4 separate regions of the Homo sapiens genome follow, and regions 2, 3 and 4 are each linked to region 1. Evidence: promoter capture Hi-C in 16 types of primary human blood cells and fetal thymus (Javierre and others, 2016). All regions are on one chromosome and are shown on one strand. Each heading gives the region's core, a stretch centred on a gene start or on the middle of the fragment in contact. The rest is flanking DNA. Distances are from core to core; before and after follow the strand shown. Region 1 holds the start of GPX8 (glutathione peroxidase 8 (putative)). Region 2 has its middle 30 kb from the start of HSPB3. Region 3 has its middle 21 kb from the start of SNX18. Region 4 overlaps SNX18 (sorting nexin 18).

Region 1 (3,148 bases), core at 230-2,729:
TAATGCCCCTTCATCCAGATCTTGCCATGAGTCTTAAACAGAGCAGAATTGAAAGTGAATGGCTTTTAGGATATACAGCCCTCAATTGCCTCCCCATACCTACCCCTAAAATTCATGACCGTTAGCAACAGCAAAGTTAGGCCCCCTGTGCCAGGCAACAGCCAGGGGAGGGAAATAAAGAGAAAAAACGAAGCAATTAGATGACGTGCCCAAGTAGAGGTGGGTTTTGCAGGGTTTGTTTGTTTTCAGGGATTTTTTTTGGTAGAATTGCCTTATTTAACTGTTAAATTACTACTTTATTATCGAGTTCAATTTTTGCTTTTTTCCCTCTTCTTCTTTTGTTCTGATTTTAAGATAGTCTCACTCTGTCACCCAGGCTGCAGTCTACAAACACGACTCACTGCAGCCTCAACCTCCTGGGATCAAGCGATCCTCCCACCTTTGCCACCTGTATAACTGGGACCACAGCCATGCACCACCACAACCAGCTAATTAAAATTCTTTTTTAGAGACAGGGGTATCGCTTTCTTGCCCAAGTTGGTCTTGAACTCATGGGCTCAAGTGATCCTCCCATCTAGGCCTCCCAAAGTGCTGGGATTACAGGCGTGAGCCACCATGCCCGGCCTCAGTTTTTTCCATCTACAGGTTGTAGTGCATCGGTGAATGATGAAATCATTTTGATAGGTCAGAACTGGGTTGTTTAAAAATGCAACAGGTGGGGGTGCATCACAGTTCAAAGGAGAAGTGTTGTTTCTCAGTTGTGTGTTGTTTGTACCCAGTTATGTTGTAAAGTGCACTGCTGACTGGGGGTCATGAGTAGAAATTTGAAAAACACTGGACTATAGTTTGCTCTATGATAGAGAAGGGTTTCTTTTAACACCTTCACTGTTTTTAACATATTTATTTTGACTGTATTCACTTGGTATTTGATTGCCTTAGCTAGATGAATCAGGGTAAATAGCCTTTTTCAGATATTTCCCTGCTCTTTCCACTATAAATTTCCTGAACTCATATAGCATGTTTAACCCATACATGTAATAGTAACGTCCTTCAGGGTATACACCATATGAGTAGGTCACATTTAATCTACATTCTAAACTATTGCTGAGCATCGTACTCCATCCTCTGCATCCAAACAGTTGCTCAATAAATACACAGCTTAGCATGGGGAATGAGCCCTCCGTAGCTTTCGAGTTACAAGAGCACCATCTTCTGGCGAAATATTTTCTTTGTAGGGAGAATGTCAAAGACCTACCAAAAATGTCCTGATTTTTCTAGCAAAAATTATAATTACATCACAAATACTTTGAAATTCTGTAGAGCTCCTTGCTTCATTCAGGAGTTTCGCTTCATTTCCCCTCTGAGAAGTGGTCTTTCTGTTCCTTAGCAGTGAAAGCAGTCAGCCTGTCCTTCCTGGTTTTCCGTTAAACTAAGCCGGTTTCAAGTTTCAGCTCCTCCTTGAATTCCAGGCTGCTGAGACTTCCCTCTAGAATCCTCCAACATGGAGCCTCTTGCAGCTTACCCGCTAAAATGTTCCGGGCCCAGAGCAAAGGTATTTGCAGTTTTGCTGTCTATAGTTCTATGCACAGTAACGCTATTTCTTCTACAACTAAAATTCCTCAAACCTAAAATCAACAGCTTTTATGCCTTTGAAGTGAAGGATGCAAAAGGAAGAACTGTTTCTCTGGAAAAGTATAAAGGCAAAGTAAGTTGCATCATCTGATTTTTATTGTTATCATTTTTCCTTGTCTCTGTTTATTCCTCTTAATAAAATCAATTTTTTGCTGTTACATGGTCATAAGTTGGAATTTAGTCTTCAGAGTAATGGTATTAGTACATCACTTTAGTTATTACAGTTCTGATAGTTTGCTTCTAAATAATAAATTCCGATTATCTCGTTTTCTTTAAAATGCTTTAATTTTGTGCTGAATTGACATGTAAAGTTGTTTGGAAAATACTTATAGTTAGTAATGTGAACATGATGACATTTATTAATAAAAGTATTGGTTCTATAATCTAATAACTTTAAAAAGAACTTATCAAGGATCATAGTTTTATCTTTAATTTAAAAATAAACTTTCATGAGTATCTAATGCTTTTTTAATGGCAGTACTATTTCAGGGCCTTAACCCAGGCATCTAGGTTACAGTTTTCAATAGAACTGTGTATGTCCAAAAATATGAAAAAAACATCAATCAGAGGTTATAGTCCCCCCCAAATTGTTTAGGATTTTAACTACTTGCAGAATTTTTTAAAATCTTTTGCTTCACTTTCCGGTTGGATTTTTTTCTTTTTCCGGGAGGTTTCACTAGTTGTAAACGTGGCCAGTGACTGCCAACTCACAGACAGAAATTACTTAGGGCTGAAGGAACTGCACAAAGAGTTTGGACCATCCCACTTCAGCGTGTTGGCTTTTCCCTGCAATCAGTTTGGAGAATCGGAGCCCCGCCCAAGCAAGGAAGTAGAATCTTTTGCAAGAAAAAACTACGGAGTAACTTTCCCCATCTTCCACAAGATTAAGATTCTAGGATCTGAAGGAGAACCTGCATTTAGATTTCTTGTTGGTAAATATCTGCCTTGCATATGCTGTTTTAAATTGCTTTTCATTTTTAAACAATTATACCAGGACAATACTTTCCTATTTCATTTGAAACGTTGTATCGGGAAAGCTTCATAAAACTATCATCAAAGAGCCAGAATCTCATCCTTTGTAACTTCTAGGAGTTATGCTCCCCTGAAATCAATGTTTTAGCTTCTTAGATGGTAAAAGAATTCTATTCCAATATATTTTATTCCTTATTACCATCTTCCTGAAGAATTTACTTAAAGTGTGCCCATGGCTATTTTCACAAAATATCTTAATTCTCCTCTCTTGTAACTAGCATCTGGAGAAATGTCCCTTCCCGTCATTATAGCCACACAGCTCTCATGAATAGTGCTGGGCATTATTAGTTAACATATGTTTGTGGCTAATTTTATGTTGTCTTTCTTATCTGAAACAATATTCTCAAAGATGAATATGTCAGCTTACCAGATTTTTGCTAAAATCCAAAAACATATAACTTGGTTTTTTCAGAGGGCAGTAGTGTTAGGCTATTTCTCCAATTAAGCTAGCTACAGAAATCTGTTTAAAGACTTGCCAAGGTCA
Region 2 (3,148 bases), core at 217-2,716, 730 kb before region 1:
ACCATATTGCATCCTAGACTATAAGGTAATAAATATATTTTGTTCAAGACAAAAAAATGAAATGACATTCAAATGTATCTAAAATGGAAGTAACTAGTTCTAGATGGCATTTGCTCCAGTAGGTTTTGCTTTTCCTGATTCACTGTTTGCACCTCCACGTCCCCACCCACCCCATGTAAGAGTAGGGGACTATGCCTAGAAGTACCGTGATAGTGCAGTTGGCACACACGTTTCATGGGAACTTCTGGAAATAAAATGGGTGGCAGGGGTGGAATATGAGTTTAAAATACACACTCAGAACTGATTATTTCAAACCACCTCTTACCATCTGAAAATTGGTTTTGTGTGTGTATTTTAAACATACATTCCCCCTTATTTTATTTCTAGAAGTTTTCACGAAATGCCTGTGCCAACCGCCTGGCATTTTCCTCCATTTTCATGGCACTTCCAGGCATAGTCCTTTAATCTTTTTTTTTTTTTTTTTTTTTAGATGGAGTCTTGCTCTGTCACCCAGGCTGGAGTGCAGTGGCATGACCTTGGCTCACTGCAACCTTCACCTCCCGGGTTCAAGCCATTCTCCAACCTCAGCCTCCTGAGTAGCTGGGATTACAGGTGCCCACCACCACACCCCGCTAATTTTTGTATTTTAAGTAGAGACGAGATTTTGCCATGTTAGCCAGACTGGTCTCAAACTCCTGACCTCAAGTGACCCACCCGCCTTGGCCTCCCAAAATGCTGGGATTACAGGTATGAGCCAGTGCACCTGGCTGAGTTCTCTAATCTTATATGGAGTAGTTGGAGATTGGGGGTAAATAGCCACTTCACAGTGTAGCCCAGTGGTTAGGAGCATGGACTGTAGGGCTTCACTGTTCCCATCCCTGCACGTTTCCTCCCTGCAAGCAAGCTATTTAAACTTTCTGTGCCTCCATTTTCTATTCTGGAAAAGGTCGTCGTAAAGCCTAAGAGCAGCAAATGAAGAGTTTCATATATGGCCAGCAACACATTAAGCACTTAGAAGCTAGCTACTGTTATTATTACTACAAAATTATTTTTAGCCACTCGGAAGACATCATTCTCTTACAGAGTTCCAACTGAAGTGTAAAAGAAATAGGAAGCCATAATACAAGACATAATAAGAAACGGCAAGGTGGTAAGCTTCAGATTTGGAGGTCAGCTATATTTCCTGTCTTCTTGGTAGAAATTAGCATTAAGTTTTAGAAAAATCAGCTTTTGTTTACAGAAATTGCAGGATAACAAGTGATTGGGCTGCTTACCTTTAACCCTTCAGTGTTGGAGGATGCTCATGTCTAGAAGTTACAGCTGGGATATCTGACACTGTTAATGAGCTTCTCTTCCTGAGAATCCTAGGAAGCCTGGTGCCTTCTGAGAGCCCCAGCAAAGGGGCTTCCCCTTATGTCATGTTTCTCTTTTTGGCCTCCACTCACTTCAGATACCACTAGAAAGGATTTAATGGGCTATTAGTATCTATTTCTTTTCCACCATGCTTTTCTTCCCAGGTATTTTCTATCCATGCCCATGTATTGGATGGGCTAACACAAAGCCTCCCCTTTCTTATAAGCTGCTATGTATCGCCAGCCTCTGGTGCTCCCTTGCCCAGAGAGAAGCAAAAACCAGTCAGCGTTTGAGAGAATTGCCTGCAGCTGACTTCTAGGCTGGGCACTGTCAACCTTAGTTACTACTTTCTTTCCAAGAAGCATAAGCAGATATCTTTTTCTAATGTTGTGGATTTTAAAAATATGTAGCATGTTAATCTTTTGAAGCTTTGAAAATTAAATTGTGTTTTTCCTGCTCACTTTTCCCATAGGCCACTTCTCTTGGTTTATATGATAGGAAGGGAATTGATAAGAGAATCCTGAGTTGCTGTCACTGTATATGAGTTTATCATCTCCTTCACAGTGGGCACTTGGCTCATCAGCCACAGAATATCCAATGTTCTGAATCAACAGCCTGCAGCAGGATGGCATCAACAGAAAAATCAGGCTGACATGCCCACAAAAAAACCACCCTTTCTCCAAAAACTATTGGAAACAGCCTCTTTGAGTCCTCAAAAGCAAAAAATATTGGGGACCAGACACGGTGGTTCACGTCTGTAATACCAGCACTTTGGGAGTCCAAGGTGGGTGGATCACTTGAGGTCAGGAGTTCGAGACCAGCCTGGCCAACATGGTGAAACCCCGTCTATACTAAAAATACAAAAATTAGCTGGACATGGTGGAACACACCTGTAATCCCAGCTACTCAGGAAGCTGAGGCAGGGGAATGGGAGAATGGCTTGAACCCGAGAGGTAGAGGTTGCAGCAAGCTGAGGTCATGCCACTGCACTCCAGCCTGGCCAACAGAGCTAGACTCCATCTCAAAAAAAAAAAAAAGAAAAGAAAGAAAAAAAAAGAAAAAATTGACTTTTCTTTCCATTGAGAAGAAATTGTTTTTGAACCATGTGGGCAGGGGTATAATTCCTCCACTGTGCTTCACTATGCTTCTGGTTGTGTTATTGCTGGTCCCATAGCTTCAAATTATATAGGTGATTTGCATGAAGAAAGGGAAAGAAGAAATTTCTCTGGAGGGGAAAGACGGTGGTAAGACCACTACCTTCTTCATTTCCCTTTTTTCTGGCTCAACCTCAGAAACTAGGTCTGATTTCTGGATTTAGGGGTGTTAGGCAGTGGTTGAAAGAGCTGTTGAGACTCTGGGGTACAAAGCAGTGCCTTCTCCAGTTTTATAGGGCCAAATGTCACCTCTGAGCAGCTGGAGAGATGTTTTCTCTATTTCTGTGGTATGCCATGTATATAGTGTTTGGGGAGAAATAAGGCCAGAAGTCACATGGCCCCTTCAGCATGTGGAGGGATTTGCAGCTGTGGAACCCAGGAGTGCTCAGGAAGTGGGGGCAGCCTCGCTGAAGAGCTAGGAGCAGCAGACATCAGCAGGAAGAGCAGAGGATAACATCAAGAGGAATCGTGCCTGACACCACCCTGCATGTCCAGGGTTATTTCTGGGAAAGCCAAAGCCTAAGGGGTATTGGGTTTGCTCAAGACTCAAGTCACCTATGGGTAGGTGGTGGCCAATAATCCGGCAAAGTGGGGCTAAAGACAAACTAGACAGCTTGGGCATGAGGTTTGAAAATAGGAGG
Region 3 (3,148 bases), core at 427-2,926, 660 kb before region 1:
TTTGCATCAAGGCTTGCCAGTTTTACCTTCTAAGCATTGTTCTTCTGCCCTTTTCTTGACCTCCCAACTGCCATTGTCTATCTTTATCATGTGTCAATCCAGTAGTTCCCTGAAGTAGCTTCTAGCATCATGCTGGCCACCATTCTATGATGTCTTACTACTGCCTGAGCTTGTCATTTCTCTCATTTCAAACACCTTTCATCCTCATACAGTCCAATTTCCTTACACATGTTTTTGCCTTAATTCCTTCTACATCTCACCTTGTGTTGTTTTACACTGTAATATTACTTATTTCTTGTATTTCCTAATATCCACCATGGCATTTAACATTTTTTGTGTCTTTGATGCTCTTCCTACCTGGAATACCAATCCTGTTTTTGACTAATTCCAACTCATTTAAAAATTTTGATCAGCATGGGACATGGTGGCTCATGCCTGTAATCCCAGCACTCTGGAATGCTGAGGCAGGAAGATCAACTGGAGACCAGCCTGGCAACATGGCATGACCCCCATCTCTACACAAAATTTTTTTTTTTTTGAGACAATGTCTCGCTCTGTTTCCCAGACTGGAGTGCAGTGGTGAGATCTCAGCTTACTGCAACCGTCACCTCCTGGGTTCAAGCGATTCTCCTGCCTCAACCTCCCAAGCAGCTAGGATTACAGGCATGCGCCACCACGCCCAGCTAATTTTTGTATTTTTAGTAGAGACGGTGTTTTACCATGTTAGCCAGGGTGGTCTCGAACTCCTGACCTCATGTGATCCACCTGCCTCGGCCTCCCAGAGTGCTGGGATTACAGGTGTGAGCCACCATGCCTGGCCACAATTTTTTTTTTTTTTTTTAATTAGCCAGGCATGGTGGTGCACACCTGTAGTCCAAGCCAGCTGGGAGGCTGAGGTGGGAGTGTTACCAGGATGTGTGGAGTCCTCTGTTCTTAGTCTTCTTGGGAGAAGAAATTTGGCCAAGAGACCAATTAGTAAAGTAAACAAAGACATATTAAGGAAATAAGAATATGCTCCAAGAGAGGAGTGGGCTGACCCTGCTGGGAGCAGTAGTAGTAGCAGTCTGTTTAAAGAGATAGTATGCTCTGAAAGAAAAGTCAGAGTGGGCTGCTGGAAAGAGAATGAGCCAGCAGCCCCTAGGGTTCTGCATTGAGATTTTTGTTATGTTGGGACTGTTTCTTTAAGTTCCCACCTCTGTCTCAAGTCTCCACCTCTATCTTTATCTAGCTTCCCCCTTCTGCATTAAGTCCCTGCTTTTTTCCTGCCTAGTTCCTGCTCTAGGTTTATGGGATTCTCCTTTACTGGTAGTTAAGGCACATGCAAGGACTGGTGTTGGGTACAATCCTAATGGCAGCTTTGCTTATTACCCTCTAGCGTTGCCCTCTAGGAAGGTCATATAGCAGTTATATGTGTACATATTACCCCTGCATATCTCTCAGACTCTTAGAAATTTCCCCTTTGCCCTTTTTTTTTTTTTTGAGACAGAGTCTCAATTGTGCAGGCTGGAGTGCAGTGGCATGATCTCGGCTCACTGCAACCTCTGCCTCCCAGGCTCAAGCCATTGACCTGCCTCAACCTCCTGAGTAGCTGGAATTACAGGCACTTGCCACCATGCCCAGCTAATTTTTGCATTTTTAGTAGAGACAGGGTTTCACCATGTTGGCCAGGCTGGTCTTGAACTCCTGAACTCAGGTGATCCACCCACCTCGGCCTCCCAAAGTTCTGGGATTACAGGCGTGATCCACTGTGCCCAGCCATCCCCTCCTTATCAGCATGTGGCTAGCTCCATTCTGACCGATTAGCTGCAGCGTGAGTGATTACTGGGCATCTTAAGAGTTGTTCTGAGGTGTTTCTTCGTGCACAGGTATTTTCCCTCCTTTATGCTCATATCTAGCATGCAGATTTCCAGTGGTCTCTGAGGTGTGAGATTTTCCAGACCTCCCTTTCTTCAGGCTCCCCCTCCTGCTCATGTCTAGGTATCTGCCTGCTGTAACAGGAGAACTGCTTGGGCCCAGGAGTTCAGGCTGCAGTGAGCCATATTTTGGGGTGAAATTCCCTGTGCTCCCTCAGTATGTCCACATAATGGGATATTATGTTGCTATAAAAAATGAGAACACTCTATTAATTGGGTCCAGGACAAGTCACGCCAAAATATGACTTTAGGAGACCAGAATATGCCAGGCCAAAATATGTCTCTTTAACATAAGGATTATTTTGAGCTGTTATTTTGAGAAATTGTAGACACAGTAGAGGCTCTGAAAAGTTATCCTGTGTGAGAGAAATTTACATCTATCAAAGAAATCTCCATTTGTGAGACTGTGTCCCTGTCTACACCAGGAAGAGGAGGACACTAGATCACTAGACTCTTAATCAATGGAGAAGGCATTGACTTAAATCTGCATAGCAGAACTTACCTTTGTTTATGGTGCTTTTCCTGGTCATCTTGTCATACTGAAACTGCTGTTGCAAAATTATAACTGAGACAGTAAAAGAGATCTGACCTAACTAACTCCATCTTGCTTCTAACCTCCAAGCTGTCCTTGTTTATTCGTGGGTGTAGGCCAAACTAACATCAGGAGAAACTTAGTTTATAATTTAAAACAAAGACAATAACAGCCCTTTCCCAAAACAGACCTGCTGAGACCAGCTCGGTCGGGGAGACCCTAACTCAGCAGCGCTAGAGGAATTAAAGACACACACACAGAAATATAGAGGTGTGAAGTGGGAAATCAGGGATCTCATAGCCTTCAGAGCTGACAGCCCCAAACAGAGATTTACCCACATATTTATTAACAGCAAACCAGTCATTAGCATTGTTTCTATAAATATTCGATTAACTAAAAGTATCCCTTATGGGAAAGGAAGGAATGGGCCGAATTAAAGGAATAGGTTGGGCTAGTTAACTGCAGCAGGAACATGCCCTTAAGACACAGATCGCTCATGCTATTGTTTGTGGTTTAAGAATGCCTTTAAGTTGTTTTCCGCCCTGGGTGGGCCAGGTGTTCCTTGCCCTCATTCCAGTAAACCCACAACCTTCCAGCTTGGGCATTAAGGCCATTATTAACTTGTTACAGTGCTGCAGAGATTTTGTTTATGGCCAGTTTTGGGGGGGCTTGCTCCCAACATGTCTCCCTTCTTTGATTTGCA
Region 4 (3,148 bases), core at 232-2,731, 630 kb before region 1:
GGCTCAGGGAAGTTAAGTGATTTCCAGGCTCACAGAGCTAATGAGGAGAGCTAGGATTCGAGTGCATTATTTGCCTTAAGTTGAGACTGGTATTTCTTACGCTACAATATATAACATGCTTGTTAGAAAATTGACTTATTCTACAGGCAGTCAGCAGCCACTAAAGGTTTCAAACCAAAGAGTGACGTTTAATCATAATCAAAATAGCTATCATGTTTTGAAGACTTCCTGAGTGCCAGGCATGGTGCTTTGTGTTTTATATTCATTATATCTATTTAAGCTTCAGAGGAGCTTAAAAAAGTATTTACCTCAAAAAAGCTGAGGTAAATACTCTTCTTATACCCATTTTGCAGACAGGAGCTGAACCACAGAAATTTTTTTTTTTTTTTTTTTTTTTTTTGAGACAGTTTCGCCCTTGTTGCCCAGGCTGGAGTGCAGTGGCGTGATCTCGGCTCACCATAACCTCCACCTCCTGGGTTCAAGCGATTCTCCTGCCTCGGCCTCCTGAGTAGCTGGGATTATAGGTGCCCGCCACCACACCCAGCTAATTTTTTGTATTTTTAGTAGAGACGAGGTTTCATCATGTTGGCCAGGCTTGTCTCAAACTCCTGACCTCAGGTGATCTACCCGTCTCGGCCTCCCAAAGTGCTGGAATTACAGGTGTGAGTCACCCTGCCCATCCAAACCACAGAAATTTAAACTGCGAGTTCCTGGAAGCATCCTTCACTGGTGCACCCTGGCTCCCTGAGGCAGGGCTTTTGGAAGTTACTCCTGTTGGTTGGGCAGAGATGAGGAGGCTCTTAGAGTACTCCAGGGGAAGAGTTGGCTTTGGAAAGGAACAGGTGAACTCGAGACACCTGCCAGGTATCATGGCAGGACCTGGTGAGGCGCTGGCTCTCCTGAGGAATCTAGTGTTACCTTAGAGGTTTTAAGTTTGGGTGGTAGAAAGTAGTGAAGCCAGTGATAGAAGAGGTAGGCAGACTGAGAAGAGGAGCAGGACTAAAAGGAAAGACAAGGAATGGGGCTGAAGGGAGTCTTAGAAAATCCTTTTTCTTTTATTGTGTTTTTATTGTGTTTAGTTATGTTGACATTTGCGATTTTCACCAAAGCCACGTGTTGTCTACAGCAAGACATTTTTAACTAAATGCTGATAGATGTTAGTGTGGATAATCTGTAAATTTTCACGTTTTATGATTTGTATTTCACATATATTTTAAAACTTGATACAATTTTAGATGCTTTGTTCTGTCTTTAGTTGGTTATTTATGATTTCATACAAGGATGTCCGGATGTGGTCAGAGTAAAGACTCACAGCCACCGGACACCTGGGCCCTGCCAGTGCGAGGCAGCGGGAAAACCACAGGAGTGAGGCGTGTCCTTACATTTAAAACAGCTGAGTTAGGAATTATCTCCACAGCCTCGTGATCGTGAAGGGATGTGAAGCAGCACTCAGGATAACGAAGAGTGCTTGTGCTGCTCACCAGTCGGTACCACCGTGGCATACATGGCAATTGGGACAATGGAGTTTACAATTTCAGACAAAAACTGGAAAATTACTTGAAAACGAGAAATGCATTATTTGCAGATATTCTGCTAACTCCAGCATGAACCACAGTGCACTCAGATAGGGTCCCATAAGTGCCCTGGCTCTGCGTGTGTGCTCTATCTTGCCTTGCCTTGGCTTCTCTCGTAAAGAGCAGGGGCCACTTTACTCTCTTCCTGGCCCCATCTAGAGGGACTTCTGTTTAGATTTATTTTAGCAGCTTCTATTTAGATTTATTTTGGCTTGGGTCTCCCTTTATCTTTCTAGAAAAAAAGAAAATAAGGTTTTACCTTTCATTAAAGGTACTTTCCCAAGTTCACTCTTTGGTACAGATATGCTTGTTGTATGTCACGTGTCGAAAGTGTTGGCAGCTTGCAAACATATCTATTGTTGCTTTTTTTTTTTCTTTTTTTTTTTTTGTAGAGACCAGTATGCGTGCACATGCCTCAGGTAATTAAAGAACTGGGCACTGCAGACCTGAGGCCCCTATTTGTGTTCTCTGAATTTGAACCATTATATGGGTTTTACTTTTACAAAGTTAGTTTTTTAAAAGTTTCATTGTATGGTCAGCATTATCAAGGATAGTATGTCTACCTTATTTTATTAAGATTCTGTGGGTATCAGATCTTTAAGAAAAGAAACAATACATGGTTTTCTTTCTTACTCTCAAATTTTAAAGTCTTCATCTATATTTGCTTGGCTACAGGCAAATCAACATTGCCACCATACCCAAAAACACTTCTCAAATAAAGACACTGTGTTTTCAGAATTCTCCTGAAACTATCACCCTAGTAATTTTATCACGTTTAATATTCATTATGGGCTGGAACACAAGAACCTTTATGTATATAAAATTACCAGCAAGAAACAGTTTTACCAAATAAACCACAAGAGGTACAATCATGTGATTTCTCTCTTCATTTTTGGAATGAGGTAAACTGTATGACTATATATGCATAGTAACTAAAATAATCATCTTTTAAGGTATTTATACGCAAGTGAATATTTGTATTCAAACTGAATGTCATTCTGCCTTTAGACATTAGGTGATTGCTGAATGAAGCTATAAGAACTACTTAATTAGAATATTATAACAATGCTTTTACCTGAAACAGACTAATGATATTTTCAGGATGAAATCAAGCTTAGAGGCCTGAATTCTTTAAGTGATTTTTTTTCCATCAAGTGACCAGGTTTTTTTCTTTTTGCAGTTGACTATGCTTGTCTTGATCCTCTTCCCTCCTTTTCAAAATGGTTCAAAAGTTCTCTTTGTCATTTATTATATTTATGAATTAAAAAGTGAATTTTAAATTACCTTTGAATTTTGATAGTTATTAGCTTTAGGGACCTTCATTAGTCCATTCAGAAAATTGCTTTCCCTGACTTGAGTTCAGTATTAATTTTGTACCCTCCAGGGTTTATTAATGTGGTCTAAACCTGGAACCCACTTAGTATGAATCCATGCAGGAATAGTATTTAGGGTCTGGAGGTGGTTTGTGGGTTGCTCATCCCTATGTTGGTGGCATAGGCTCCTAGGAGGCGTTGGGTACTGGTGTAGTGTGCTGTGCTTTGAGGCCGATCTATGGGGCTTTGCGATCGCCATGG

Evidence for each region. Contacts are between HindIII fragments. The CHiCAGO score rates a contact against its expected background, and 5 or more counts as called.
Region 2: a contact is called between a fragment that was not itself captured here and the fragment with the promoter of GPX8 in region 1, in 1 of 17 cell types (neutrophils). The highest score is 5.1, in neutrophils.
Region 3: a contact is called between a fragment that was not itself captured here and the fragment with the promoter of GPX8 in region 1, in 1 of 17 cell types (total CD8 T cells). The highest score is 5.3, in total CD8 T cells.
Region 4: a contact is called between a fragment that was not itself captured here and the fragment with the promoter of GPX8 in region 1, in 7 of 17 cell types (total CD8 T cells, total CD4 T cells, activated CD4 T cells and 4 more). The highest score is 7.9, in total CD8 T cells.

What each region holds. Positions count from the first base shown.
Region 1 is chr5:55,158,692-55,161,839 of GRCh38, forward strand. It overlaps GPX8 (glutathione peroxidase 8 (putative)), which reads left to right and starts at 1,480. Exons shown (of 3, transcript NM_001008397.4): 1 at 1,480-1,705; 2 at 2,303-2,564. The coding sequence starts at 1,502. All of the region lies in intron 2 of CDC20B (cell division cycle 20B), which reads right to left. The HindIII fragment of the contact is 5,226 bases long and covers 1-2,667 here.
Region 2 is chr5:54,423,847-54,426,994 of GRCh38, forward strand. No RefSeq gene overlaps it. Among named protein-coding and RNA genes, the nearest start is that of HSPB3, 30 kb to the right of the region's middle. The HindIII fragment of the contact is 626 bases long and covers 1,154-1,779 here.
Region 3 is chr5:54,495,583-54,498,730 of GRCh38, forward strand. No RefSeq gene overlaps it. Among named protein-coding and RNA genes, the nearest start is that of SNX18, 21 kb to the right of the region's middle. The HindIII fragment of the contact is 3,542 bases long and covers 1-3,148 here.
Region 4 is chr5:54,530,371-54,533,518 of GRCh38, forward strand. All of the region lies in intron 1 of SNX18 (sorting nexin 18), which reads left to right. Among named protein-coding and RNA genes, the nearest start is that of SNX18, 14 kb to the left of the region's middle. The HindIII fragment of the contact is 2,407 bases long and covers 279-2,685 here.